Linked DNA regions of Homo sapiens: regions 1, 3, 4 and 5 are each linked to region 2. The links are contacts of gene promoters, found by promoter capture Hi-C in blood cells and fetal thymus (Javierre and others, 2016). All regions are on one chromosome and are shown on one strand. Each heading gives the region's core, a stretch centred on a gene start or on the middle of the fragment in contact. The rest is flanking DNA. Distances are from core to core; before and after follow the strand shown. Region 1 overlaps TMEM123-DT (TMEM123 divergent transcript). Region 2 holds the start of MMP20 (matrix metallopeptidase 20). Region 3 overlaps LOC124902740 (a long non-coding RNA gene). Region 4 has its middle 34 kb from the start of BIRC2. Region 5 overlaps TMEM123 (transmembrane protein 123).

Evidence for each region. Contacts are between HindIII fragments. The CHiCAGO score rates a contact against its expected background, and 5 or more counts as called.
Region 1: a contact is called between a fragment that was not itself captured here and the fragment with the promoter of MMP20 in region 2, in 2 of 17 cell types (M1 macrophages and M0 macrophages). The highest score is 8.1, in M1 macrophages.
Region 3: a contact is called between a fragment that was not itself captured here and the fragment with the promoter of MMP20 in region 2, in 1 of 17 cell types (M1 macrophages). The highest score is 8.8, in M1 macrophages.
Region 4: a contact is called between a fragment that was not itself captured here and the fragment with the promoter of MMP20 in region 2, in 6 of 17 cell types (M1 macrophages, M0 macrophages, naive B cells and 3 more). The highest score is 16.1, in M1 macrophages.
Region 5: a contact is called between a fragment that was not itself captured here and the fragment with the promoter of MMP20 in region 2, in 5 of 17 cell types (M1 macrophages, M0 macrophages, M2 macrophages and 2 more). The highest score is 13.2, in M1 macrophages.

What each region holds. Positions count from the first base shown.
Region 1 is chr11:102,459,525-102,462,224 of GRCh38, reverse strand. It overlaps TMEM123-DT (TMEM123 divergent transcript), which reads right to left. Exons shown (of 2, transcript NR_135053.1): 2 at 187-777. Among named protein-coding and RNA genes, the nearest start is that of TMEM123-DT, 8.0 kb to the right of the region's middle. The HindIII fragment of the contact is 975 bases long and covers 813-1,787 here.
Region 2 is chr11:102,624,022-102,626,721 of GRCh38, reverse strand. It overlaps MMP20 (matrix metallopeptidase 20), which reads left to right and starts at 1,390. Exons shown (of 10, transcript NM_004771.4): 1 at 1,390-1,528. The coding sequence starts at 1,403. The HindIII fragment of the contact is 723 bases long and covers 1,201-1,923 here.
Region 3 is chr11:102,479,743-102,482,442 of GRCh38, reverse strand. The region is part of intron 1 of LOC124902740 (a long non-coding RNA gene); the gene reads right to left. The region is part of intron 1 of LOC102723838 (a long non-coding RNA gene); the gene reads right to left. Among named protein-coding and RNA genes, the nearest start is that of TMEM123-DT, 28 kb to the right of the region's middle. The HindIII fragment of the contact is 6,416 bases long and covers 1-2,700 here.
Region 4 is chr11:102,380,302-102,383,001 of GRCh38, reverse strand. No RefSeq gene overlaps it. Among named protein-coding and RNA genes, the nearest start is that of BIRC2, 34 kb to the right of the region's middle. The HindIII fragment of the contact is 6,214 bases long and covers 1-2,700 here.
Region 5 is chr11:102,403,429-102,406,128 of GRCh38, reverse strand. The region is part of intron 2 of TMEM123 (transmembrane protein 123); the gene reads left to right. Among named protein-coding and RNA genes, the nearest start is that of TMEM123, 48 kb to the left of the region's middle. The HindIII fragment of the contact is 2,640 bases long and covers 1-2,617 here.

The sequences.
Region 1 (2,700 bases), core at 51-2,550, 160 kb after region 2:
TTCCTACCAACTTACAGCCCTCACAGTCTGGTGACAGTTTTGGTGGAGTGCTATTACTTACTTGCCCACGTGGAAATGGGTCATTTACTTAAATATAACACCTGCAGGGACATGGCCACACATTATACTATTTTGCTTTTTCTTCCATGCCTTATACAATGCTGCACATACAATAGATGCTCAGAAAAAAGCTTTTGGATGATTTTTATTGATTTCATGCCATTATTAAGGTTAATACCCTCAGAATCTCCATAGGCAGTAGTAGCCCAACCCAGGCCCTGCAGGGCCCAGTCTTGGCGACTTTCACATTCCAAGAAACTTGGTTTAGAAATCAAAGGTAATTTAAAAGTTATTTGAATCTTTACTGTCATTGCTTGAAGAATATTAAAAAGAATTCAACTTGTAACCTATAATGGTAGTCTTAAATCCTCCTTGGCCCCATTCTTCTTCTTTTTTTCCCCCCTTTTCTTTTTTCCCTTCATTCCTCTTGCTTCAGTATGTCCATGGCTGACTTAAAGCCCCCCTCTCAAAATCTCTGCCAAAATTCTCTCCGAACTTGATTCCTTGTGATTCTTGGTTTTGCTTTTCATCCCCCTTCCTTTGGCTTCTATTCCTTCTTTCTTCCCACCAGGAAATCACAGCCCTTGGCATCATCTTGGCACTCACACTTGTTTCTTCACTCAGCCCTTTTCTCCTTGGTCACTGATTCTGCTCCATGAGCAGTCAGAAATGGAGCTGGCAAGCTCAGCCTCTCAGCTGGAGACACTGGAGTCAGGGCTGAAGGGAGGAGAGAGGAGAAGATCACAAAAGCTTATCATCTAAAGTCCTTTCTTTTATTCTCATTACACAGTGAAATTCTAATATATTTACTTATTGGGGGTGGGCTACATGAAAGGTATCTGGAAAAAATATGTGGCAATTATAAGGGTAAAATGACAAAATTTTCTTTGAGGAGGGAGAACACTGCCTACCCATCCTCCCCTCTTTAGGGTGTCACCCTGACAACATAATAGTTCTGACCTTTTGATTTTACATGCAAGGTCATGGGCCTTCTGACCTTTGAAACTGTCAACACTTACCTCTGGGATTTTGCTGAGGTTTCTCATCGGTACAACGATGGGTGTAATGAGACATCACACAGTACATCCTTTTGTCTCTCATAGAAATAAGAGGTTTCAGGCCAGGCGTGGTGGCTCACACCTGTAATCCCAGCACTTTGGGAGGCCGAGGTGGGCAGATCATGAGGTCAAGAGATCAAGACCATCCTGGTCAACATGGTGAAAACCAGTCTCTACTAAAAATATAAAAATTAGCTGGGCATGGTGGCGGGCCTGCAGTCCCAGCTACTCAGGAGGCTGAGGCAGGAGAATTGCTTGAACCTGGGAGGCGGAGGTTGCAGTGAGCAAAGATTGCGCCACTGCACTCCAGCCTGGGTGACAGAGCGAGACTCCGCATTAAAAAAAAAAAAAAAAAAAAAAGGAGGCAAAAGGCAAAGTATACCTGGTATATGACCACTAGACTGGTAAGGGAAAAATGCCACAAGTGAGCGTGCATACAACTCCAGTAAACACAGTGCACATGCGGCCCCCCTCAAAAGCCAGTAGGCCACCGCACAGGCAGACAACCCCCACAAGGGAAGAAAAAAGGGAGAAGTAATGCAGACCCCAAAAGAATGCCAACATATAAAACTCCAAATCAATGGTCAAACAGTACACTTGATCTCTCAAGTTGCCCACTTGGCCGTCTTCCAAGTGTACTTTATTTTCTCTCATTCCTGCTCTAAAGCTTTTGAATAAACTTTCACTCCTGCTCCAAAATTTGCCTCATTCTCTCACTCTGTCTTATGCCCCTCGGTCAAATTCTTTCTTCTGAGGAGGCAAGAGTTGAGGCTGCCGCAGACCCATACGGATTCACCACTGCTAACACAAGTAATACTCAAAATGCAGTATTCCTGGGTGAGAGCAAACTTAGGGATCATCCAATAGCGCTTACTTCCCTCTTGACCCATGTAGATACCAACAGATGATCACTGAAATATTGTATTCAATTTGGCTAACTCTGTATGCGTTCCTGATGAAGGTTGCTATAAGAGATTCAGAAATGACAGAAGGACAGTAGGACAGAATTCAAAAAGTGTGGGTTAGTATTCCAGGATATGGGATGTGAAGCTACCACTCACCCAGTTGCTCAAGCCACAAACCTAAGAGGCTTAATTTCTCTTTCCCTCAGCCATCATATCCAATTGACTCTACTCTCAATCCACATCCTAAATCCATTCACTTCTTCCATTGTCACCACTTCTACCCTAGTTCAAGCCCCCAACAATAGCCTCATAACTGGTCTGTTTCTACTCTTGTTCCTCCACAGAAGCTGGTGTGATGTTTTTAAAAATATATAAAGCACAAGATGACTTGCCAACTCTCAAATGGCTTCTCATCACATTTTGTTTTGTTGTTCTTGTTCTTTCCATACATCATATTTAAAATAAAATCTAAATTCCTCATCTGAAAAGGCCCAGATCTTCCCTTGTACCTCTCTGTTCTTATTCACTGAGCTTCAGGCACATTGGCTTTCTTTTTATTCCCCCAACACACTATGCTGGTTGAAATGTACTTCCCCCTTGTTTTCACATGGCTCCTTCTAAGGACTCAGTTTAACTGTTACCTACTACAGAGGACTTCCCTGACTGCTTATTCTGAA
Region 2 (2,700 bases), core at 141-2,640:
AAGCAGGCACCTTCTTGACAAGGCAGCAGGAGAGAGAAGATCAATGGAGGAACTTTCAAACACCTATAAAACCATCATATCTTGTGAGAACTCACTCATTGTCATGAGAACAGCATGACGGAACCACCCCCATGATCCAATCCCCTCCCTCCCTCAACACATGGGGATTACAATTCGAGATGAGATTTGGTTAGGGACACAGAGCCAAACCATATTAATGTGTGACAAACTCTTGTTCAGTGCCTGGGGTTGTACACTAGATACCAAACATTGGCTGTAACTCCACCATCTTCTCTTCCATGCAAAGAAAGCATATCAAAATGCAACAGAGTGAGAAAGACTATAGGAATTCACTGTATTCACTATAGGAATAACCTTGAATTTAGTCTAAAATCAAAATTAGGATTTGAATCCACATCTAGTGGATGCCAAGTGGTGCTTGCAGATGTCATGCTATATGTGTTACTCCATAACACTGAAAAGTTTATACATAGTAGTAGTATTGTCAGTCTTTTGTAGATTAAAAAAAACTTGATATTCAGAGATTAAATGACATACCCAACATCACACAGCTAGGAAATATCTTTTTAAATATTTAGTCTTGCTTTGTCTGACTCTAAGTGCTTTTCCCACCATATGACACCATTTCACCGTATCATCTCTGGATCCAAATCCATCTTAATCAGACCCAGGAAAAACAATATGACTCCAATTAACCAGAGTACACAGAGATTGGGGAGTTCTGGCTATTGTTTTGGTTAACGAAGACGTAACTCTTGCCTTAATTCATCCAAAAGCTTTCTAACAGTTACCAGTTCACTTTCCACCCTAAGTCAGCACAGTATAATGTAATCTTGCCTTGATGATTCAGGATCTTATGTGTCTCAGAGCCATCATTATGAACAGCAGTTGCTACTAAGAAATTTTGAAGTGAATGCAGGAGATACAGGCGATTGGGTTGAATGCATGGGGAGTTTGGGATTACTTGGAGGACAAATTCAATTATACTGTAATCATCTAACTTTTCTGTAATCAGAATGGAAAAAGGCCCCCAAATGAAGACTAATCAAATGTTTCAGTTGAGTTGGGTTCAAATCAATCAAGTTTACTTCAATTTTTGTAACTAGCTGACCAACTTCATTAAAAGTGACTGTTTTTCTCCTTTTGCCACTTGGTAAATAACAAAAAAAATATGAAGCTTTCCCTGATTCCTGTGTACAGTTGTGTTACCCCATCATCAGGGAGAGAAATGAGCTGTATAATTACTGTTTGAGACATGAATCATCCTTGCTCGGAGGGTCCAGACCTGTTTGACTCTATAAAAGGAGCTCAAGGTCGAAGTGCAAACGTGCACTGTCTGCCATCCCCCAGGCTGATATAATTACCAAGCTACTGTGAGGGGATGAAGGTGCTCCCTGCATCTGGCCTTGCTGTCTTCCTCATCATGGCTTTGAAGTTTTCCACTGCAGCCCCCTCCCTAGTTGCAGCCTCCCCCAGGACCTGGAGGAACAACTACCGCCTCGCACAGGTTTGTGAATTTTTGCCCAATTCCTTCTTGCTCCTCTGCCCTAGAAAACCTAAAAGGGCATAGTGAGAAAATAAGAAAAAAATTCTATTGTTCTTTTAAAATCATTTTATATAAGTCCATTGAAGTCTAACTGATGCTATCTTCTGTCCACCTAGATTGGTGTCTGGTGCATATTAGGTGTACCATGTTACATGACTGAATAAATACATGAGGATATATCTACCTAGCTATCTTGCTTCATAAAGAATTCCAGGTGGCTTGTGAAAACCATGCAATATAAAAGGAGCAAACAAGTACTTCCCGGGAATGATGTAGGAGGAAAAATAGAAGCAGAAAAATAAAAACCGAGGCATAATCCACACGCTAGAGGCAGGTTGTGAATTTAGTGCTAAGCTTTAGCGGTCACAACAAGGAGATTTCCTGTGTTTCCACTTTTTAAATGGCTCTTATATTCAAGGTAACCCTGATCAAAATTTAAAGTGGACTAAGTTCTTCCTGGGTGCCAACCCACTTCTCATTTGAAGGCCTTTTCTCCCTAAAGCATATTCCCCAATGAAGTAAAAGTTTATGTACAAAGTACATAACAAAGTTTATGTAGTAAGTACAAAGTACAACGTTTATGTACTTAAACTTTGTGTATTTTCCTCTTTTGAGATCTCTCCTCTATGACTGCTGGAAAGGGTCTGATAGAAATGATCCATATTCAAATATTTCACAAAGACTGCTTGACTCAAAATGATTTCTACATATATATATATATATATATATATATATATATATATATATATATATGCTTCCAAGCGTGTTTTGTTTTTAAAAGAAGGGTGGCATCCTTAACCTAAAGAAATGGATGTCTACGGATGGAATTTCCAACATTAGTGAAAGATATATAGAGGAAATGCTTTTGCACACAGGCCTCCCTTTCAAGAGTCTGCCAACATTACAGCACATCTGTGATCACCAGCTCCGCCTCAGGGCTGCTTTCCTGACTGCCAGGCTGCACCTGTGTACCGCTTGGCTGTCTGCATCGTAGAGCTGATTTGCACCCATGTGCAATGGCATGTCCCTACCGATTGTTTCTGCCACTCATCCTTATTAACTGGTCAGTTCCCCGGCCATACCAGTCATTAAACACTTAAATATCAGCCCCGCAGATGAACAGCACAGCTGAT
Region 3 (2,700 bases), core at 55-2,554, 140 kb after region 2:
ATGATCTGTTATTTATTATTTATTAATTGATTAATTTATTTTTGAGACAGAGTCTTGCTCTGTCTCCCAGGCTGGAATGCAATGGCACGATCTCAGCTCACTGCAACCTCCATCTCCCAGGCTCAAGTTTCCTGCCTCACCCTCCCAAGAAGCTAGGACTACAGGCATGCACCACCACACCAGGCAAATTTTTGTATTTTTTGTGAAGATGGGGTTCTGCCATGTTGGCCAGGCTGGTATCGAACTCCTGACCCAGATGATCCACCTGCCTCAGCCTCCCATAGTGTTGGGATTAAAGGCATGCGCCACCAGACCAGGGTAATTTTTGTATTTTTTGTACAGATGGGGTTCTACAATGTTGGCCAGGCTGGTATCAAACTCCTGACCCCAAATCATCCACCTGCCTCAGCCTCCCAAAGTGCTGGGATTACAGGCGTGAGCCACCACGCCTGACCTGTTATTAATTTCTTTACCACTGTCATGGTGTCAGCACATCTAGTCAGATAGCGTTCAATCCATCCACTAAACATACAGACAACAATCAAACAGTAAGAAGAGCCTAAAGCCTAATGTCTTAGAGGACTTGCTGAGGCACGTTGGTCTCCTCCAAAAATCTGATGGGATTTATTAGAAGTGCACTGAGAATAATTCAGTTAGAAATTTTGTAAATACCAAGGCAAAACCAATTATCTTTTCATTCCTTAACTATCCTCTGTCTGTACATATGTCCCATCTGAAGGGAGATAAGTGCTTCAAGCCAAGAAGTTAAAAAAAGGGGGGCCACAGGAACTCCATTGGCCCCATGTATAATACACCTGATAATTATCTGACATTCTTTTGTATTCATTTGTGGGTTTTTTGTTTGTTTGTTTGTTTGTTTGTCGCACTGTGCCCATTCTCTGGTAATCAATAACACCAGTAAGCAATAAAGGCAGGTTAATAAAGGGTGGAAAAGAATAGGAGGGTTCTTTGGGGCTGCATTCTTAGTGGCCTTCTCCACCCTCTCGTTCCCTAGAGATATACTATCAGTCTCCTTAGGGTGAGCTGAACAATGAGCAATAGCAATTTGAATAGGGAGGTGAACAGCCTGTAATAGAGCAGCAATTATATGCTAATTGGAAATAGGATTATCAGCAGAAGTTAAGAATCTGCTGGACTTCCAGATTGCCAATAGTGTGGCAGACACCCAAAGCATATCTGGAGTCAGGGTAAATAGTGGCAATTTTTCCTTTTGCCATTACACCAGCTCTAGCAAGATCTATACATTCGGCAGCTTGGGCTGACTTTACAGTGGACAAAGAGGATGCCTGAAGTGTTTCACAAGGGAAAACTATGGCTTCACAGTTATGTTTCCTGGAAATGTCATCCACAGAAGCCATTACAAAATAGAAATAAGTCTGGATTGTCTAAAGGAGTATCTAGGAGGTCTTCTTGTGGCTTTGAGACCTTTTCTATAGCTGCAAGGCAAACATATTGAATGGAGTGAGGCTCTCCATCATCAGGCAGGGGCAGTAGAGCAGCTGGATTTAAAGTGTTACAACAATGCAACATGATGGAGGAGCTGGTAAACAGGGCCTGTGCATAGGTGGCCTGCCATCTGGAGAAAGGTGCTGTATCTTATGAACTTGTAAGAGAACAGGCAGCATGGGGAACATATGGATGAATGAAGGAGTGTAATATCAGAATATGCTGGCTTTGTCAATTATTAGGGTGGTAGCTGTGGCTACTGCACATCGGCATGGGGGTCCAATTGACATGAGAAATATGCTACAGGGTGTATCAGAGAGGCAAAAAAATTGTTCCAAATATCTGCAGCAATCCCATTGTGTCATGGTGAGATGGGCGAAAAGGTCTGTCAAAATCAGGTTAGCTGAGAGCAGGGGATGTGGATGTTAATTTTAAGGCTCCGGAGGAGATTTATGGATCTGCAGGCCAAGAAAATGGGCTCAGAATTAATATCTGGGAGGAGGGTATAAAGGAGCTTAGCAAAGGCAACAAAATTAGGAATATATTGGTGGCAATAACTAGCTGCTCCTAGAAATTTACATAGATGTTTTTTTGGGAGGGGAATGCACAAAACTGACTCTAGGCATTTTGGGGCGAGCTTTTGAGTGCTCTGAGATATGACAACCTAGCAATTCAATCCTACATAAGTAACAGTTATTTGCACCCACTGAAGTTTAGGTTGGAAGGCTTTATGGCCTCTGTTGAGCTAGTGCCTTTAGGAAAATGAGGGAGTCTGGAAGAGTGGGTTGCTTAGTTCAGTAACAAACTAAAAGATCATATCGGAATAATGAACAAGAGTAGAGCCTTGGGTAAAGGACACAGAGTCTAAGCTGACTTTAAGGACTCGGGAAAACACTGAAAAGGACTCATGGTATCCCTGACCTATATGAGTTCATGTTCATTTTCTCCCTCTAAATGTGAATGTAAAGAGAAATTTTGAGTCAGGGCGCAATGGAATTGAACAGAAAATTGAGCAGATGTCAATCATTGTAAATCAGGCTGTATCAGCAGAAATTGAAGTAGAAATGTCAGCTGGATTAGGGACTAAGGGGTGGTGAAAAATCACAAAGGAGTTTATGGGCTCTTAGATCTTGTACAAATCAATAGATTTTATTCCTGTCTGAATCAAATGTTCCTTATTTCTTTACTGGCAAGATTAAGGTATTACAGAGTAAGGAAGGAAATAAAGACAAG
Region 4 (2,700 bases), core at 154-2,653, 240 kb after region 2:
TGTAGCTTTGAAGCTGAAATTATGACTTCTATATTTACAGAAAAATAATTCGGTATTTGCTTGCTGTCATGGAAAAATAAAGATATTCAAGACCTACTACTGAGTGAAAAAGCAACCTTAAGAACATTTCTATAACCATATGTATGTAGGCATGTGTGTATATACACACCCCCACACAGTGAATACATACCAAATTTAACAGTGATTACTACCAGGGAGGGGACTGAAAGTACTAGTGGGGAGAAATTAAAGGGGATTCAAACATTTTACCTTATATACTGATTGTTTGAAACTTTTACAACAAATATCTATTCTAAAGTATTTACCTGCCTTAAAACAAAACAAAACAAAAAAAAAAAAACTGATTGGAACACAATGCTATGACTCAGTCTATCCAGGTCTGATATGAAACAGGATGCTTGCTACTTGGGAATCAGACCTATGACACCGTCTTTAGCAGAGCCCACTAATGAAGAACACAGAAGTCATGTGCAGCTCTACATTAGACCCTACTACAGCCCTGTGAGGAATAAGCAGGACAGAAATTCACCCTCACAGAAAAGCTGAGGACCAGAAACAGTTGTAAAGGGCTTGCCGAAGACCTCATTAAACGGCAGAATTAGACTTAGAGGCAAAGTCTTTGGATTTGAAATTCAGGGCTCTTTACCTATTACCTTTCATTATCAGAGCTGCTAAGGCTTAAAAGCTCCAAGGACTCGATGGTTAAAGCCTATCTGGACACCATACCAGAAAGATAACAGGACCTAACACAATAATCAATTATTACCATAGTCTTTCCATTTCTACTAAGCTATCTAAATCTTCTTCCCCTGAATAATCACGCATATCCCAATGGACCAAGTAGGCAAAAGAATCTATTATGGACTTGTGGGGCTCAATAAATAACATCCCTTTTAGGCAAGTTTAGAACCAATAAAAGGAGTCATCACGTGACAATGAAAACATCATGTTTATCATTGATAAAAGATCTGAAGGATGATGCTTTCGTGTAGATTTCCTAATATGAATGCTAGAAGGAAACAAACTTTACCAGTCACTGGCCCCTGTGACGCCAACATCACAGAAGGACAGAGTATGCTCTCTTCAGACAAGCTGCCTCCCAAAGAGAAAGAAGAAAGAAGGGATTGAGCTACTGGGCATATCCATGCTTCTCTCCCAAAAGCACCAAGACGATAAGCGCAAGGGAAAAAAGAGTTCCTTCTATGTTGAAGAAAACCTAACAGATAAGACTAAGTATTCTCCCTTAATACAATGCTTCTTAGATTCATTTTTTGTTTTTTTAATCAGTCTAATGGTTTTACCACACACCAGTGGTTCTTAAATGCTGGTCCACTGACCACCATTGTGTCTGCACCAATCACTGCAAATGTCAGCACAGTGAAAATAGCAAATAGCATCTTACTTCTGTTTTGTTGTTGCCTCCCACGTTCAAACAATTCTCCTGCTTCAGCCTCCGGAGTAGCTGGGATTACAGGCGCCCGCCACCACGCCCAGCTAATTTTTGTATTTTTAGTAGAGATGGGGTTTCACCACATTGGCCAGGCTGGTCTTGAACTCCTGACCTCAAGTGATCAGCCTGCCTCGACCTCTCGAAGTGTTGGGATTACAGGCGTGAGCCACTGTGTCCCGCCAGCATCTCAGTTCTACTTTTAATTTTTTCAGAGCACCTAAAAGGGTTGAAAGAACTGCTACTATCTACTGATAGGTTTCTTTTACATATAGTAGGGGATACTCATTGAAATGTTACACCTCTAGAAAAAATTTAGGTGTGTCTTTAAAGCTGACCATTCGTTGTCCTTTGACTTATGGAATGGCAGTCAACAAGCAATGAGTCTCTTAGGTTGCTAGTGTTGAGAAGAGCAAACTATTCAGCTCTGGTACTTGAGCTCTTTTAAGAAAAGATGTGGGAAACAAAGGAGAAGCCTAACTAATAATCATACAATTCCTCCCATTTAGGTTAAGACAGGGAAGAAAGAGATCCAAACACAAGTTAAGAATGTAGTAAACTAAAGTATGGGCTGGATGTGGTGGCTCACACCTGTAATCCCAGCACTTTGGGAGGCAGAGGTGGGTGGATCACCTGAGGTCAGGGGTTTGAGACCAGTCTGGCCAACATGGTGAAACCCCGTCTCTACTAAAAATATTAGCCAGGCGTGGTGACGGGTGCCTGTAATCCCAGCTACTCAGGAGGCTGAGGCAGGAGAATCACTTGTACCCAGGAGGCGGAGGTTGCAGTGAGGTGAGATTGTATCATTGCACTCCAGCCTGGGCAACAAGAATGAGACTCCATCTCAAAAACAAACAAACAAAAACTGAAGTATGGTTTAGCAAGAGATTTAAAAAAAAAAATGTAAATGTTCTGGAGCCACTTCCACCTGGACTGTATACAATTCACACTCTACCACTTGTTATCTCTAGCAAATTACATGGTTTCACTGGGCCTCAATTTCCACATTTGTATTATAAAAAAGAGATAACATGTTTCCTACAGTTTTAAGGATTATGGAAGGCAATAAAAAACCTAACAAAGCATCTGACATTCATCTGTCTGCTCAACATAATGAGCACCTGCTAGGACACTGATTATCATCATTAAGAGGGCAAAAAAGATAAGAGACTAAAACCCTAATCTCAAATCCAGGTCCATTTGAGAAGTTTGCAAGCAGATAAAGTATAAAT
Region 5 (2,700 bases), core at 48-2,547, 220 kb after region 2:
GATGGTCCATTCTGCATCTCTTTGCAGGTGTTAACTGTGCCACTCCTAGAGGTGCCAGTCAGCATTTCAACAGTTAAGGGAGAGGGAAGAAGACCAGAGTTGGGATGGTATCATTTGCAGAGGAAAACAAGTGACTATTTACTTATTACAGAAGAAGATTGGGTCATCCAATGTGAATTTGGAGAGCATCCTTGCATTTCATTTATGCTTAAAAGCATCAGGAAACACAGTTTAATGCAAAATTTCCTTTTGCCTGTTTTGTCAATTCATAGAAATCGACAAAGAAATTGACATAGAAATTGACAAAATTTTTTGTTTCTTTAGCACATTTGGATTGACTTAGCGGAGAACTAACCTATTATAGCTTCCTATTTTGGCCCATGTGACTTTGTACAGTATCTTTGAAGAATGTTTTATTATACCAGAGGGCAGGGGGAGGGGTGTGTGTGTGTGTTGAATCCGAAAGCAGCATTGTGTTCATTGTTTTATTCTGCGGGATCATTCTATTCTAAAGATAGGATATAAACGTTGGTTCTTTGCTGTATTTAATTTCATTGCAATAGAATCCATTCAGCATTTTTAAATAAAAGGTGATTATTTTAATGTTAAATTCTATTACTTATATCTCTATAGAACATTCAGACTTGAATAAGAAAAGATTAGTTCAAGTTCATTTGAACTTAGTGCATTTGTATTACCTACTTGGATATTTATTATTTATTTGCCTATGTAGTATAAAAGCGTTAATTCCTTTGGCCTTATTAAGAAAATAGATCAGGCCGGGCACGGTGGCTCACACCTGTAATCCCAGCACTTTGGGAGGCTGAGGCGGGCAGATCACAAGGTCAGGAGATCAGATCGAGACCATCCTGGCTAACAAGGTGAAACCCCGTCTCTAATAAAAATACAAAAATTAGCCAGGCGTGGTGGTGGGCGCCTGTAGTCCCAGCTACTCAGGAGGCTGAGGCAGGAGAATGGCGTGAACCTGGGAGGCGGAGCTTGCAATGAGCTGAGATCACGCCACTGCACTCCAGCCTGGGCAACAGAGCAAGACTCTGTCTCAAAAAAAAAAAGAAAAAAGAAAATAGGTCATACTCAGTAGAAGAGATCACAGAGACCCAAAGTTGAAGAAAGTAGTAGAAATTCCAGTAGTAAAACCCGATATGCAAGTAAGCAGCACTATTAAAACCAACTTGTTTTGACAGTTAAGTCAAAAATAAATATAGCTGGGGCCGAGCATGGTGGCTTAGCCTGTAATCCCAGCACTTTGGGAGGCCAAGGCAGGCAGATCACCTGAGGTCAGGAGTTCAAGACCAGCCAGGCCAACATGGCAAAACCCCGTCTCTACTAAAAGTACAAAAATTAGGTGGGCTTGGTGGTGCATGCCTGTAATCCCAGCTACTAAGGAGGCTGAGGCAGGAGAATTGCTTGAACCTGGGAGGCAGAGGTTACAGTGAGCCGAGATCGCAGGCACCGGCCCTCCAGCCTGGGGGACAGAGCAAGACTGTTTCAAAAATAGTAATAACAATAATAAATACATATAGGGGCCAGGTGCAGGGGCTCACACCTGTAGTACTAGCACTTTGAGAGGCTGAGGTGGGCGGATCACCTGATGTCAGGAGTTTGAAACGAGCCTGGCCAACATGGTGAAGCGCTGTCTCTACTAAAAATACAAAAATTAGCCAGGCGTCGTGGCATGTGCCTGTAATCCCAGCTACTGAGTAGGCTGAGGCACGAGAATCGCTTGAACCCAGAAGGCGGAGGTTGCCCTGAGCCGAGATCATGCCACTGCACTCCAGCCTGGGTGACAGAGTAAGACTTTGTCTCTAAGTTAAATAAATAAATAAATATCAATCTGTCTGTCTTTCAAGAATAAGGCCAAAATAGTTGTGGAAGATAGGATAATATATGAAGTATCACTTTTGGTACTTGACAACAGTGGCGGGGCAAGGAACCTAAGGCATTGGTACTGCTCTCACTGGGGGAAAGGAGAAAGCAGGTCCAGTGGTTAATTCTGTGTACCTTAAGTATGTGGACATATATAATAAAATGGGAGTATAAAGGTGTCTTAGTACATTTTGTGTTGCTATAAAGGAATACCTGAGACTAGGTAATTGATAAAGAAAATGTTTATTTAGCTCAAGGTTCTGCAGGCTGGGAAAGTTCTGCAAGCCCTGGTTTCTGGGGAGGGCTTTTATAAAGCTGTGCCACAACATGGCCGAGAAGGTCAAAGGGGAAGTGGGTAACTGCAAAGATAGAAAACCCGAGGAGCATCCTGGCTTTATAACAACCCCCTTTCATGGGAACTCATTTCCACAGGAACTGATCCAGTTTTGCCAGAATGAGAACTCACTCACTACCACGTGAAGGGCATCAAGCCATTTATGAGGGATCTGCCCCCATGATCCAGACAACTCCCACTAGGCCCCACCTCCCAAGACCGCCACATTGGAGATCAAATTTCAATATGAGTTTTGATAGGGACAAACAAACCAAATCCAAACCATAGCAGTAGGCAACATAGGAAACCAAAAAACCTGAAAATAAACTATGAGACAGGAAATGAATACAGAAATATATTACATCATATTAAATGGACAAAGACATATTAAAAGCTTTCATTCCCTAGACATTGTATCCTAATAGGTACCTATAGTTGTAAACGTTAGTTAAATTGTCGTGTTAAAAAGAAGATGCAGT